Linked DNA regions of Homo sapiens: region 1 is linked to region 2. The links are contacts of gene promoters, found by promoter capture Hi-C in human tissues and cell types (Jung and others, 2019). All regions are on one chromosome and are shown on one strand. The core of a region is centred on a gene start or on the middle of the fragment in contact, and the rest is flanking DNA. Distances in the headings are between cores, read along the strand shown.

Region 1 (5,510 bases), core at 1,183-3,682, 800 kb after region 2:
TGGTCTCACTTATATGCGAAATTAAAAAAAAAAAGAAACAAAATTCAAAGATGTAGAAACAGAGTAAAAAGGTGGTTACCAGGGGTAGGAAAAGTGGGGGAGTGGGGAGATGGAGGTCAAAGGGTATAAAGTTTCATTTATGTAGAATAAATAAGCCTAGAGATCTAATGTATAGCATGAAGACTGTAGTTAATAATATTTTATTTCATAAGGGAATTTGCTAACAGAGTGGATTTTAGGTAATTCTACTACACACACACACACGCACACAGAAAAGGTAACTGTGTAACATGATAGATATGCTAATTTGCTTGATGTGGTAATCATGTCATTATGCATATTGTTAAATAAAATTTATGGAAGCTCTCATTCTAGATCCCAACAAACCAAAGCAAAATGGAGTCCCACACGCTAAGTGCCACATGATTAAACTGAAATTTTAAGAAAGCAGGTAAATTTCCAAACAGACCAGATATTTTTGAAAACAGAAGATTCACAGAAACCAATTAGAAAGGGCCCAGTCAGCCTAAGTCAGTATAATAAGGAAATCTCCACAGTTTTAACCCTTATAAGAAAAGTAACCTGAAGTAATCTGATGTTAACCGATCTGCCTTTTTCTATTATTCTGTTTCCTTGTTCCCACTTTACAAAAACCAATTGTTCTGCCATGCCCAGTGGAGCATTCATTCTATTTATAGAATACAATACTGCTGAATTCTAGAATCACAAATAGAAGCCAATTAGATCTTAAAACTAAATTTGTTATAGTTTTGCCTTTTGACAATATGTATATCAAAACATCGTGTTAGGTATTGTCTTAGTCTGTTTTCTGTTGCTATAACAGAATACCACAAACGGCAATTTATACAGAAAGAAGTTTATTTGGCTTACAGTTCTGGAGGCTGGGAAGTCCGAGAGCATGGTGCCACCATCTGGTGAGGGTCCTTCATAGTGAAAGGGTGGAAGGTGGAAGTGAACACTAGAAACAGAGAGCAAATGGAGGCTGAACTTATCCTTTTATCAGGAACCCACTCATGGGGCTCTGCCCTCGTGATCTAATCACCTCTTAAAGGGCCCACCTCCCAATACCATTACATTAGCAATTAAATTTCCACATGAGTTTTGAAGGGGGCATTCAAATCATATCAAGAAAAAAAAAAGTCAAGTCCCCTAGGCTTCTCTTCTAGGTAGATTCCTGCTTCAGTCCCTTCCTATATAGAAACTCTGGAGTTTCCCCTACCTCATACTATTGCCTGTTTTCCATGGCTCCAAGAGAAAAGGAATATTCTCTTTTCTTCTGAAAAAGCACTACAGTTTATTGGTCAGCACCAAGTGTGTTTAACTTCAGTTTCAGATGGCAACTCACACATAGATGTGTTTATGTTGCCCTTTATCAGTATTATCATTGGCAAAGCCTTTGGTAAGCAACAGAAGTGGCTAAACAGAATAATTCCAGGCTTGAAGTTCCTTTTTCATCTGGTTCCCTCTGGGAAAAGGCTATGAAAGCTAAGGGTGGTGGCCAAGTCCCAAAGGCCAAGGTCACCATCAAACATTTTCTGAGAATCTACCAAAAACACAGGTCTGTATTAGGTCAATATGCACACAGTTGTGCTGGGAAGGAATGAAGCTTTCAAATATGAGAACTGTACCTGAAAAATCTTTGCCATCAGTTCTTTGAAATGAAACTCTAAGCTGGGAAGAACTCTCTGCTTAGGGGAAGTAGGACTAAAACTTGACTTTTGATTTGGAGAACATTCAAAAGACTCTAAGCTCATGAGTGCTCAACTTGTAATTTTTTGCCCTTGAAAAAACTATAGGCGGGTGCAGTTACACCTGTAATCCCAGCACTTTGGGAGGCCAAGGTGGGTGGATCACTTGAGCCCAGGAATTCAAGATCAGCCTGGGCAACATGGCGAAACCCCGTCTCCACTAAAAATACAAAAATTAGCCAGGTGTGGTGATGCATTCCTGCATGCCAGCTACTCGGGAGGCTCAGGTGAGGGGATTGATTGAGGCTGGGAGATTGAGGCTACAGTGATCCGTGATGGCACCACTGTACTCCAACCTGGACAACACAAAGACCCTATCTCAGAAACAACAACAACAACAAAGAAGCAACAAAAGGGAATTTGTACTTTTAGCCATAGAGCCTTCAAGTTTGTTATAACCACTGGGGAGAAAACCCTTCATTTCTACTTCATTCCTAAAATGGGTTAATCACTGATTATACATAGAAAATTTACTCAAATGAAAACAAACCACCACCAGATTTTACCTTTAAATATATTTTCTTGGTATTATTTTAGGTTCTGGTAGCAAAAGGTGCAGAGATAAGGACATGGGTTAATGACATGGGTTATTTATTGCACTCTGCATACAGCAGCAAGAATGCTTTTCCTAAAAATTCTTTTTGCTGAAGTCCCTTTTTTGCTTATGTCTCTTTTCCTAAAAAATCTTTTTGCTTAAGTCCCTTTGTTGCTGCCCACATCATTTGATTTCCCACAGCAAATTATTATAAGCCTGCATTATCCTGTTTCTCCTCCTCCTCTGAATCTTCCTCTCCATCAGCACGATTTCTGTTTTCTTTCTTTGCCAACTAGCTGTGTGGCTAAGAGTAAGTCACTGGAGTCTCACTGTCCCTTTGTCTGTAAAACTATGGTTTTGGAATAAGAAGGGTCCTGGCCTGCTATGGGGTGTATCAGAGTCAGGGTGAAAGGGTCTTAAGGTATTTGAAAATAAAGCAGCAGATAAGCTTGACATGGAGAGTAGCCTACCTCTGGCTCTGTTTTCTCCATTTCCTTAGGAGTGAAAAGCTGGCCGTCAGCAAGCAGATTCAGTGCTCACATTGTAGCCACATAATCAAAGGAAGAAATACATATCTTTTTTTTTTTGAGATGGAGTCTCACACTGTCACCCAGGCTGGAGTGCAATGGCACAATCTCGGCTTATTGCAAGCTCCGCCTCCTGGGTTCATGCTATTCTCCTGCCTCAGCCTCCCGAGTAGCCAGGACTACAGGCGCCTGCCCCCACTCCGGGCTAATTTTTTTTTTTTTTTTTGTATTTTTACTAGAGGCGGGGTTTCACCGTGTTAGCCAGGATGGTCTCAATCTCCTGACCTCGTGATCTGCCCGCCTCAGCCTCCCAAAGTGCTGGGATTACAGGCGTGAGCCACCATGCCTGGCTGAAATACGTATCTTTTAAGATCTAAAGAAAATCGTTTTAAAGTTACTGTTGTGTCCATCTTGTTTTCTTGTTACTGAACTTATTTCAAAAATTTAAATAACATTAAAGGAAGGTATAAGATTTTTATGGCTATCCAAAAGCTGCATTAAAAAAAACTTAAGGATTTCCAAGTCAATTTCCGGCTGTGAAAATCACACTGTGTCCTGAGTTGGTGGGTTCTTGGTCTTACTGATTTCAAGAATGAAGCCGCAGACCCTCTCAGTGAATGTTACAGTTCTTAAAGCCAGCGTGTCTGGAGTTTGTTCCTTCTGATGTTTGGATGTGTTCGGAGTTTCTTTCTTCTGGTGGGTTCACGGTCTCGCTGGCTCAGGAATGAAGCTGCAAACCTTCGCAGTGAGTGTTACAGCTCTTAAGGCCACATGTCGGGAGTTGTTCGTTCCTCCCGGCGGGTTCGCGGTTTTGCTAGCTTCAGGGGTGAAGCTGCAGACCTTCATAGTGAGTGTTACAGCTCATAAAGGCAGTGTGGACCCAAAGAGTGAGCAACAACAAGATTTATTGCAAAGAGTGAAAGAACAAAGCTACCACAGCATGAAAGGGAACCTCAGCAGGTTCCCACTGCTGGCTTGGGCAGCCTGCTTTTATTCTCTTATCTGGCCCCACCCACGTCCTGCTGATTGGTCCATTTTAAAGAGAGCCGATTGGTCTGTTTTACAGAGAGCTGATTGGTCTGTTTTGACAGGGTGCTGATTGGTGCGTTTACAATCCCCGAGCTAGACACAAAAGTTCTCTACCTCCCCACCAGATTAGCTAGATAACAGCATCCATTGGTGTATTTACAAACCCTGAGCTAGACACAGAGTGCTGATTGGTATGTTTACAAACCTTGAGCTAGATACAGAGTGCTGATTGGTGTATTTACAATCCCTTAGCTAGACATAAAGATTCTCCAAGTACCCACCAGACTCAGGAGCCCAGCTGGCTTCACCCAGTGGATCCCGCACGGGGGCCGCAGGTGGAGCTGCCTGCCAGTCCTGCGCTGTGTGCCCGCACACCTCAGCCTTTGGGCGGTCGATGGGACTGGGCGCCATGTAGCAGGGAGTGGCGCTCCTCGTGGAGGCTCCGGCGCGCAGGAGCCCATGGCAGGGGCGGGCGGGCGGGGGTGGGAGGAGGGGAGGCTCAGGCATGGCAGGCTGCAGGTCCCGAGCCCTGCCCTGCGGGGAGGCAGCTAAGGCCTGGTGAGAAATTGAGCACAGCAGCTGCTGGCCCAGGTGCTAAACCCCTCACTTCCTGGGCCTTGTGGGCAGAGCCTGCTGAGCCCACGCCCACCCAGAACTCATGCCCAGCCCAGAACTCGGGCCCACCCAGAACAAGCGCCGTGCCCAGCCCTGGTTCCCGCCAGCGCCTCTCCCTCCACACCTCCCTGCAAGCTGAGGGAGCTGGCTCCGACCTTGGCCAGCCCAGAAAGGGGCTCCCACAGTGCAGTGGCGGGCTGAAGGGCTCCTCAAGCACGGCCAGAGTGGGCGCCAAGGCCGAGGAGGCACCGAGAGTGAGCGAGGGCTGCAAGGGCTGCCAGCACGCTGTCACCTCTCAATACGATCTGTGAACATGTGCCCTTTCTCAGTTCAGAAAGCCATTTAGAGCAAATGTACTTATTTACTTTATCCAGGCTCTGCTTACTCCTCTCCTCTCCACAGCCATCTCCTCCATTAGAAATGCTTTTCCCTGCCATTTTTGACAGACCCTGAGCCTCCTGGCCTCCCTGCCTGAGACGCATTATAGTCTCTCTGACCTGGACCACTGCATGCAGCTTGGGAGCCTCCCTGTCTTTAAGGTATCGGACAAAATATAGATGAGAGTAGCAAGGCATTAGGAGTAGTAGTAATAGCAGTACAAACAAGAATAATAATTTTTATGATAATAGTAGCTAACATTTGTTGAACTCCTTTTATGTGCCAAGCATTTTATGTTTATTATCTTACCACCCTTGACAAGGACCTTATGAGGTGGGTACTATCAACCCAGTTTCTCAGAAGGGGAAACTGAGGCTTATAAAGAATATACAACTTGCTCCAAGTGGTAACTAGTGGAGAGAGGATTTAAACCTTGGCTCTTCAACATCCCATAACCTATGCATTTAGTTGCTGTTCATAAATAGTCACCTGCATATGTTCATCTTGCTTTTACCTGTGTTCATCCCATCTTTTTTGTGAAACTCCTGGAAGGCAGGTCGTGTCTTCTTTCATTCTTTTATACCATCTCAGAGGGCTGTAACAATACATGCTCAGAAAACATTTCTGTTCAACCTGCATGAAGTACAAGGCAGGCTG
Region 2 (6,287 bases), core at 77-2,576:
GTGGAGCTCGCCCGGGCCAGACGCCACAGCGACCCGGGAGCGCCGCGGCCGCTCGCCCGTCGGAGCCCTGGGAGGAGCGGCGGCCGAGCGGCTTTAAGTGTATTCCCCTCCCCTCAAATCGCGTGGGGCGGGGGCCAGAAAGAAAAAGGAGCGAGCGACAGGCAGTGGGAGAGGGGGGGAGCGCCGAGCGGCCGGGCCGCGGCCGGCATTGTCTGCGGCCCGCGCCCCCTCCCCCGCCCCGCACAGCCCCGCCACACACACCCTCGCCGGAGGCCGGCCGTCCGCCCGCGCCTTTGTCCACATCCACCCCCGAAACCGGCGAACAGCCCTCCAGGATGTGCTCCCCGGAGGAGGGCGGGTAGGGGAGCGCGGGCCGGGGGCGCGGAGCCCACGGAGGGGCGCGTCCTGCTGATTCATTTCCCACTCGCGCTGGCCCGTCCGGGGCGACGGGGGGCAGGGAAGGGAGGGAGGAAATGGGCGCTCCGCTCAGGAGGACCGTCCGGGCCAGTGAGGACACCCGCAGGGGTGCGGGCGCGCGCGGAACTAGGGGCTGTCCGCAGGAGAAAGGCGGGCACCCCCCCCCCACCCAGGGACTGACGGACGGACAGACGGCTCGCGGCTGCCCCGTGACTCACCGACTTGCAGGACGTTGTCTACGCAGCCGCTTTCCAACAGCGCGATGCCCCGGCGGAAAGGCAGCCGCGTCTCGTCGCCGCCGTCCGCCGCCCCGGCAGCCCCCACCGACGGGGCCCCGGCCCCCGCGGCGGCGGCGGCGGCGGCGGCGGCGGCGGCAGCGGCGGCGGCGGCCGAGGTTGCGGCCGCCGAGGTTGCGGCCGGGGAAGACGAGGAGCCGCCGCCGCCGCCGCCGCCCGCGCCGCCGCCGCCACCGCTGTCGTCGCCGGGGCCGCCCGCGGCGCCGCCGCCGGTGTTGAAGGACGAGTACATGCAGATCTCCCGCTCGCTGCGGGGGAAGGACCAATAGACTATGCGGCGCTGCACCGGCTCCGGGATGCGCTCAAAGCGCTCCTCCACGCGCTGGAACGGCCACTTCTCCGCCACCCTGCGCGCCGCGATGTCCAGCAGCGACTCGGGGCTCTGGGTCTTGCCCGGCGGCAGCAACCCCAGCGCCGCGCCGCCCCCGCACGCCGCCGCCGCCGCCGCGCCACCCGCCCGCGGGCCTGGCCGACAGGCAGAGCTGTAGCCGCCACCCGCGCCGCCGCCGCCGCCGCTGCTGCCCCCGCCGCCGCCGCCGCCGCCCGGCCGGCAGCAAAGCCGTTTCGCGGGAGGAGGCTGCTGTCCGCGCTCCGCCATGACCGCGCCGCTTCTAACCCGACAGCGGAAGTGCCGGGACCCTATAAACGGCACTAGGAAGCGCGACACGCACACGCCGTCGCGACGCCACGATGCCATCTAGGGCCCGCCGCTCCTTGTATGGGCACAAGAGGTGGGGCCTCCGCTGTGACGCAGAAGCTGGGGCGGGGCTCTGATAGGGGGAACCTAGGGCCGGGGGCGGGGCCTATGCAAATCGCTGGGCTGAAACATAAATAGAGCGCTTGGCGGACACGGGGGTGGCGGGGGCGGGCCGTTTTGGTGCCCGGTGGGTTGTGAGAATGTCAGGCTGCTGTGACGCGGGGGAGGGCGGGGTCAGGCGGGGTTCCCGTGGGAGGGGGCGGGCCGCCGGGCCGGGCCTGAGGTGGGTGGGTCTCTGCGCCCCCTGCCTACCCCACTTCCCCCTCCAGTTCTCAGCTTCTCTTTGAAGTCCGAGAAGTGAGGATGCGCCTCGTGGGTCGCAGCGGGGGAGGAAAGGGGAGAAGAGGGGGTGAGCGAAGGGGAGGGTTCTGAGCTAAATGGAGGGCGGGGCCCACGGGCCGATGCCCCACCCCCCCCGTCCCCCTGCCCTTCGGGGGAAAAGCCTCTGGGCGGAGGAGGCGCTTTCAAAACAAAGAAATGCGGCATGGACCCCGGGGGACGCGGGTGGAGAGGAAGGCGGAGGAGGCGCGGCCAAACCCGAGCGCCTGCCAGCTTCCCCTCCAGCCGGTCCAGGGGAGCTCTCCCCACCACCCGCCGAAGCTGCAGCGGGGAAGGGGGAGGATGGCTGCGTTCGGCGGCGGCTTTCCACTTCACTTTTGCAGACCTGGTGTGGAAGGAGCGCGCCCGCTCTGCTAACCCCGCGTGGCTGCAGTGCGCCCATCCCCGAGCCCCGCGTCCGTTCTGTCTCGGCTGCAGGGCTGTGCCCGAAAACACGCAGAGCGCTCGGAACGTGCCCAGCAGCCGCGCGACCCGCGTCCGGTGCCGGCTGCCACCGTCCCGCCCTCGCTGCCTCAGCCCCTCGGGCCAGGAAACCGACCCGCCCGCTAGAAGTCGAGGAGCTCCGGCCGCCCTTGTCGCCCCCGCGGCCGCGCGGACAAGGCCCCGCTCCAGGCCGGGGTTTCTCCAGCTCGGGGTGGAACGCAGCCCGGGCTGTGGGGTTAGCAGACACACCTTTGTGAGTACACACGCCGCAGGGCGCGCGCAAGCCCCACGGGCTCGCGCACACATCGCCCAGCAGGCGGCAGACGGCGTGCCAGGCGGCGGACGGCGGCTTCGGGCGCACTTGGGTCTGCGGCCCGGCTCCCACCCCGGCACCCGGGTGCGCGGCGCCCGGCTGCGCGGAGTCCAGGCGCTCGGGACGCGCGCCGCGCTCTCAGTCGCCTTGGCGGCGCCCGCAGGGCCAGTCCCCTCGGGTCCGGGCAGTGTAGGGGTGGACCAGGGAGAGCGAGTGCAGAGTGCAGCTCGCTGGTGCCTGGACGCGGGCGAAGGCGGAGAAGCGAGTCCCTCTCTGAACCTGGAGCCCTGCGGACATTGTTCGCGCTCCACAGAGCTCGGTCAAATCTGCTTCCAAGCCGCAGACTTAATTACCGCGTCGGAGACAGGCTTCCTCCCAGCCCCACCTTCTGTTTTTACTGTAAACAGTGGTGCTGATCCGCTCCCATTGTTGGAGATAAACTGTATCTCCTTTGACACTTTCGCATCTTTTAAGGTTATTGGCTGCTCCCCACCCGCCTGCCTTGCAGCCTGGATTTAAAGGGATAGCGCGCTTCGGCGTTTTAAAGAAAATCGCCCATTCGGGGCCGAGGCCCTGGAAACCTCGAGCTACACAGTGGGCCTTCACAAGTCCCAGGCTGCAGGTCCCTGGGGTCGGGACGCTGGCCGACTTTCCGCAGCTGCCTTACTTGTTAGGAAAATTTTTGTGGCATTATGTTTTTGTATATCCGTCCAGTATTTTTCTGGGCACTTCCTCCATGTCTAGGAAAAAGCCTGTGCGGAAAACTGGAGGATCTTTATGGGCAAGTAGAGGGAGAAGTCTCTTTCAGGGGTTTCATTTCTAGATCTCTTTAAAAATAAGAATAATCTTATAATTGTGTAAAACATAGGTATAGAAGACAGTAAGTTTAAAAGTAAAACACAAGTTGGGCTCTATTCTCTTCAGAAGTTCATGATACGACTTAGGCTTGTATAATGTGTAGATTAGCAAGCATTTTCACACATAAACACATAGAATCACTGAACTGGAAAGTCAGCGATGACAAAACTGGTGCCCCCAGACAGGATAAATGACTCATTCAGGGTCATAGGGGTTGTTAGTAGAAGAGATTAATTCACATTGAACAGGGAAGTAGGTACCTTTGGAGGTGCCTAACTTTTAGAGCTTTCGTTATTATAACGAGCAAGAGACTGGATTTAAGGCACCGTCGTTTGCTGGAGGGATCTATTATAAGCTCTCTAATTCAGAGACAAATGAGGGGCCACCAGTTCAGCCTGACCCAGCCGGCCCTCCCTGCACTCTCTGGCGCTGATTACTGACCTCCTCTTGAACTGGGCCCCTCTCTGAGTTTCCCGGAATTCTGCCATCCCTCCAGTGTCTCCAACTCCTCTTTTCCCTCTTTTTTGTTTATCTTCCTTCAAACTGTTTAATGTATACCCTGCCCTGCAGCCTATCACGGTCCTCTTCATTTTGCTTGATCCACCACTTGGAGAGTTTCCACCACCCACCCTATAACCGTTTCCTAAAGTATCATCTCCCTCTCTGGCTCACGTATTTCTTCCTGGTGGCCAGCTCACTTTTCCATCACCACCAGGATGCCCACGGCCACCTCAAACCCAAAGAACCACCTTTCCCTAGAATCCAGGTTCTCTTCTTTCGTTATATTTTTGATACTGTTGCCACCTGTTCCCAGGGCCCCAAGCTTTTTCCTCTGCCTTTGCCTCTTTCCTGTAACTCCCACAGTTGACTTGTATTGTCTATCCCAGCCCCTCTGGCTGCTCACAGTCAATTATTCCTCCTCTTCACTCTGCAGGAGCCTCCTCCCTGGTGTGTCTGTATAGCCTTTCCTCCTCCAAATCATCCTCCACCCAGCTGCTGTGCTTCCTAAAGTACATTTCGGATTGTGTCACCCTCCTGCTTAAGTCCCTGTAAATGGCTCTCTGCTGCCTACTGGGAGAAATCCAAACTCAGATCTGATCTTGACCAAACCCAACTTTTCAGCCTTGCCTCCCACTAAAACCCAACAGAACGTTTCCCAGTTCCCCAGCAGGAATTCTGTTATGTCCCAACAGGACTTCTCCACCCCACACATTTGCTCAAGATGTTCCTGCTGCCTGAAATGTCTCTCCCTTCCCTTGCAACTTGTCAAATTCCTACCCTTCCTACAAGGATTTGCTCAAATGCCACTTCCTCTGGGAAAACCCACCTGGCTGTGTGATCTCTCTCTCCTCAAGCCCCTTTAACACTTTGGATCGTTCTTGTGACATTTATACCATTCTGCCTAGCATCAGAGTTATGTTTACACTTGCCTAAGCCATTGTCCTTTCTCTTTCTCTCTCTCTCTCTCTTTTCCTCTTCCTCTCTTCCCTGGTTAGAAATTCTCTGACAGTTGGGTATATGCCTTGTCCATTTCTGTAGTCCCTGAATGCCCAGCATTGTCCTGCAAGGTTTCTGTCTCCCCAGAGGTTAGCTACACCCAGGAGCCAAGGGAGAAGTGAGTGATGGTGTGTCATCTTTGGCTAGTGCTTCTGCCATCTCTCATTTTTTTGAGTAATTATAGTGTTTTTCCTGGTGTTCATAGAAATCATTACTGAATTACTTATGATTACCCTTTTCCAGCAGGCTTCTACCCCAGGGACCAAATCAGGGATAGAGCCGCCTCCAGTGTTTACCATTAGGCAATGGTAGGAAATCAAAGTACAGAAAGTCTACTGCTTCCCATATGCAGTGACTCATATCACATCACACCACATCACTAGTGTGGTCAGGAGCTAGGCTCCCTGGCCCACTTCATAAATAGTACTCCCAGTAGCTAAACTGATGAACTGAAGGAAGTGAGAAAACCCCACCCAACACCCACCTGAGCACCACATCTAGCACCCAGCCCACTGCAGTCAGATGCATAGATAGGTTGATGGACAGATGAATGGCAAAGGAATTTATTTGAGAAGGGCAGTGGAGTCCTAGCCAGAGATCTCTTATGGCTCCTCCACCCTCCTTTAACTTAGAAATGAAATTTTTGAATTAAATTCGGTAGCGGTTTACCAAATTCCTGGAGCAGTGGTTTTCAAAGAGAGACCCCTAGAGTGCCCCAGGGCAAAATGCACACAACTTTGGAGCTGGGAAACGGAAATTAACACATGTAGCGGCTCCCCACATGAGTCATCTTTACACTAAAGTTTGAAAACTACCCTTTGGTGACAAGAACTTCACAGGGTCCTGCGCTTAGGAGGCCTGCAGGAGAAAATGGCATTGCCTCATCATTATTGCTAGTCATCTCAGCTAATTAAGACAATAATTTGCCATTAGTAGGAAGATTCCAAGACATGGAAATTAAATTAGATCTAAGGAATTTCAAGTCATTTGAAGATGGACACAAAGTTATATTCATTTCCATTCTCTTTTTCATACTGGGACATATTTTTTAATACTGTAGTCGAAGCCAATTATGTTCCCTGGAATATAATTTGTTTAGAGGAGAATAAAAGCCTAAAACAGCATAGTTAACCTATGAACCAGGCATTCTCCCCTCTTGTGCAGTGAGAGAGCATCTCACTCTGTATGGCTAAAAAGAGCGAAGAATGAGGGAGAATAGATGATACTTCATCAGTGAAAAATGTCCAGTAACAGGAGAAAGTGCCAAAAGAGTCTTCCTGGTCAGTCATTTCCATGGAATAGATTCTTGTGCAAAGGAAGAGGTAAGCAGGGAATGATCAACCAGAACTGAAAAATTTAAACCATTACTCCAACTTTGAAGAGGGTT

What was found. The method cuts DNA at HindIII sites, captures the fragments that hold promoters and counts their contacts. A contact is called where the count stands out against the background at its distance.
Region 1: a fragment that was not itself captured here is called in contact with the fragment with the promoter of ZSWIM6 in region 2 in 1 of the 25 tissues and cell types used here (lymphoblastoid cells).

The regions. Positions count from the first base shown.
Region 1 is chr5:60,529,401-60,534,910 of GRCh38, reverse strand. It overlaps PART1 (prostate androgen-regulated transcript 1), which reads right to left. Exons shown (of 4, transcript NR_024617.1): 2 at 5,368-5,507; 3 at 892-979. Among named protein-coding and RNA genes, the nearest start is that of PART1, 44 kb to the right of the region's middle. The HindIII fragment of the contact is 5,395 bases long and covers 1-5,129 here.
Region 2 is chr5:61,327,297-61,333,583 of GRCh38, reverse strand. ZSWIM6 (zinc finger SWIM-type containing 6) reads right to left here and starts at 1,326. Exons shown (of 14, transcript NM_020928.2): 1 at 636-1,326. The coding sequence starts at 1,311. It overlaps LOC105378994 (a long non-coding RNA gene), which reads left to right and starts at 1,368. Exons shown (of 2, transcript XR_007058781.1): 1 at 1,368-1,444. RefSeq lists silencers at 432-541, 1,322-1,461, 1,572-1,971, 2,182-2,251, 2,282-2,861 and 1 more and an enhancer at 2,666-3,236. The HindIII fragment of the contact is 12,801 bases long and covers 1-6,287 here.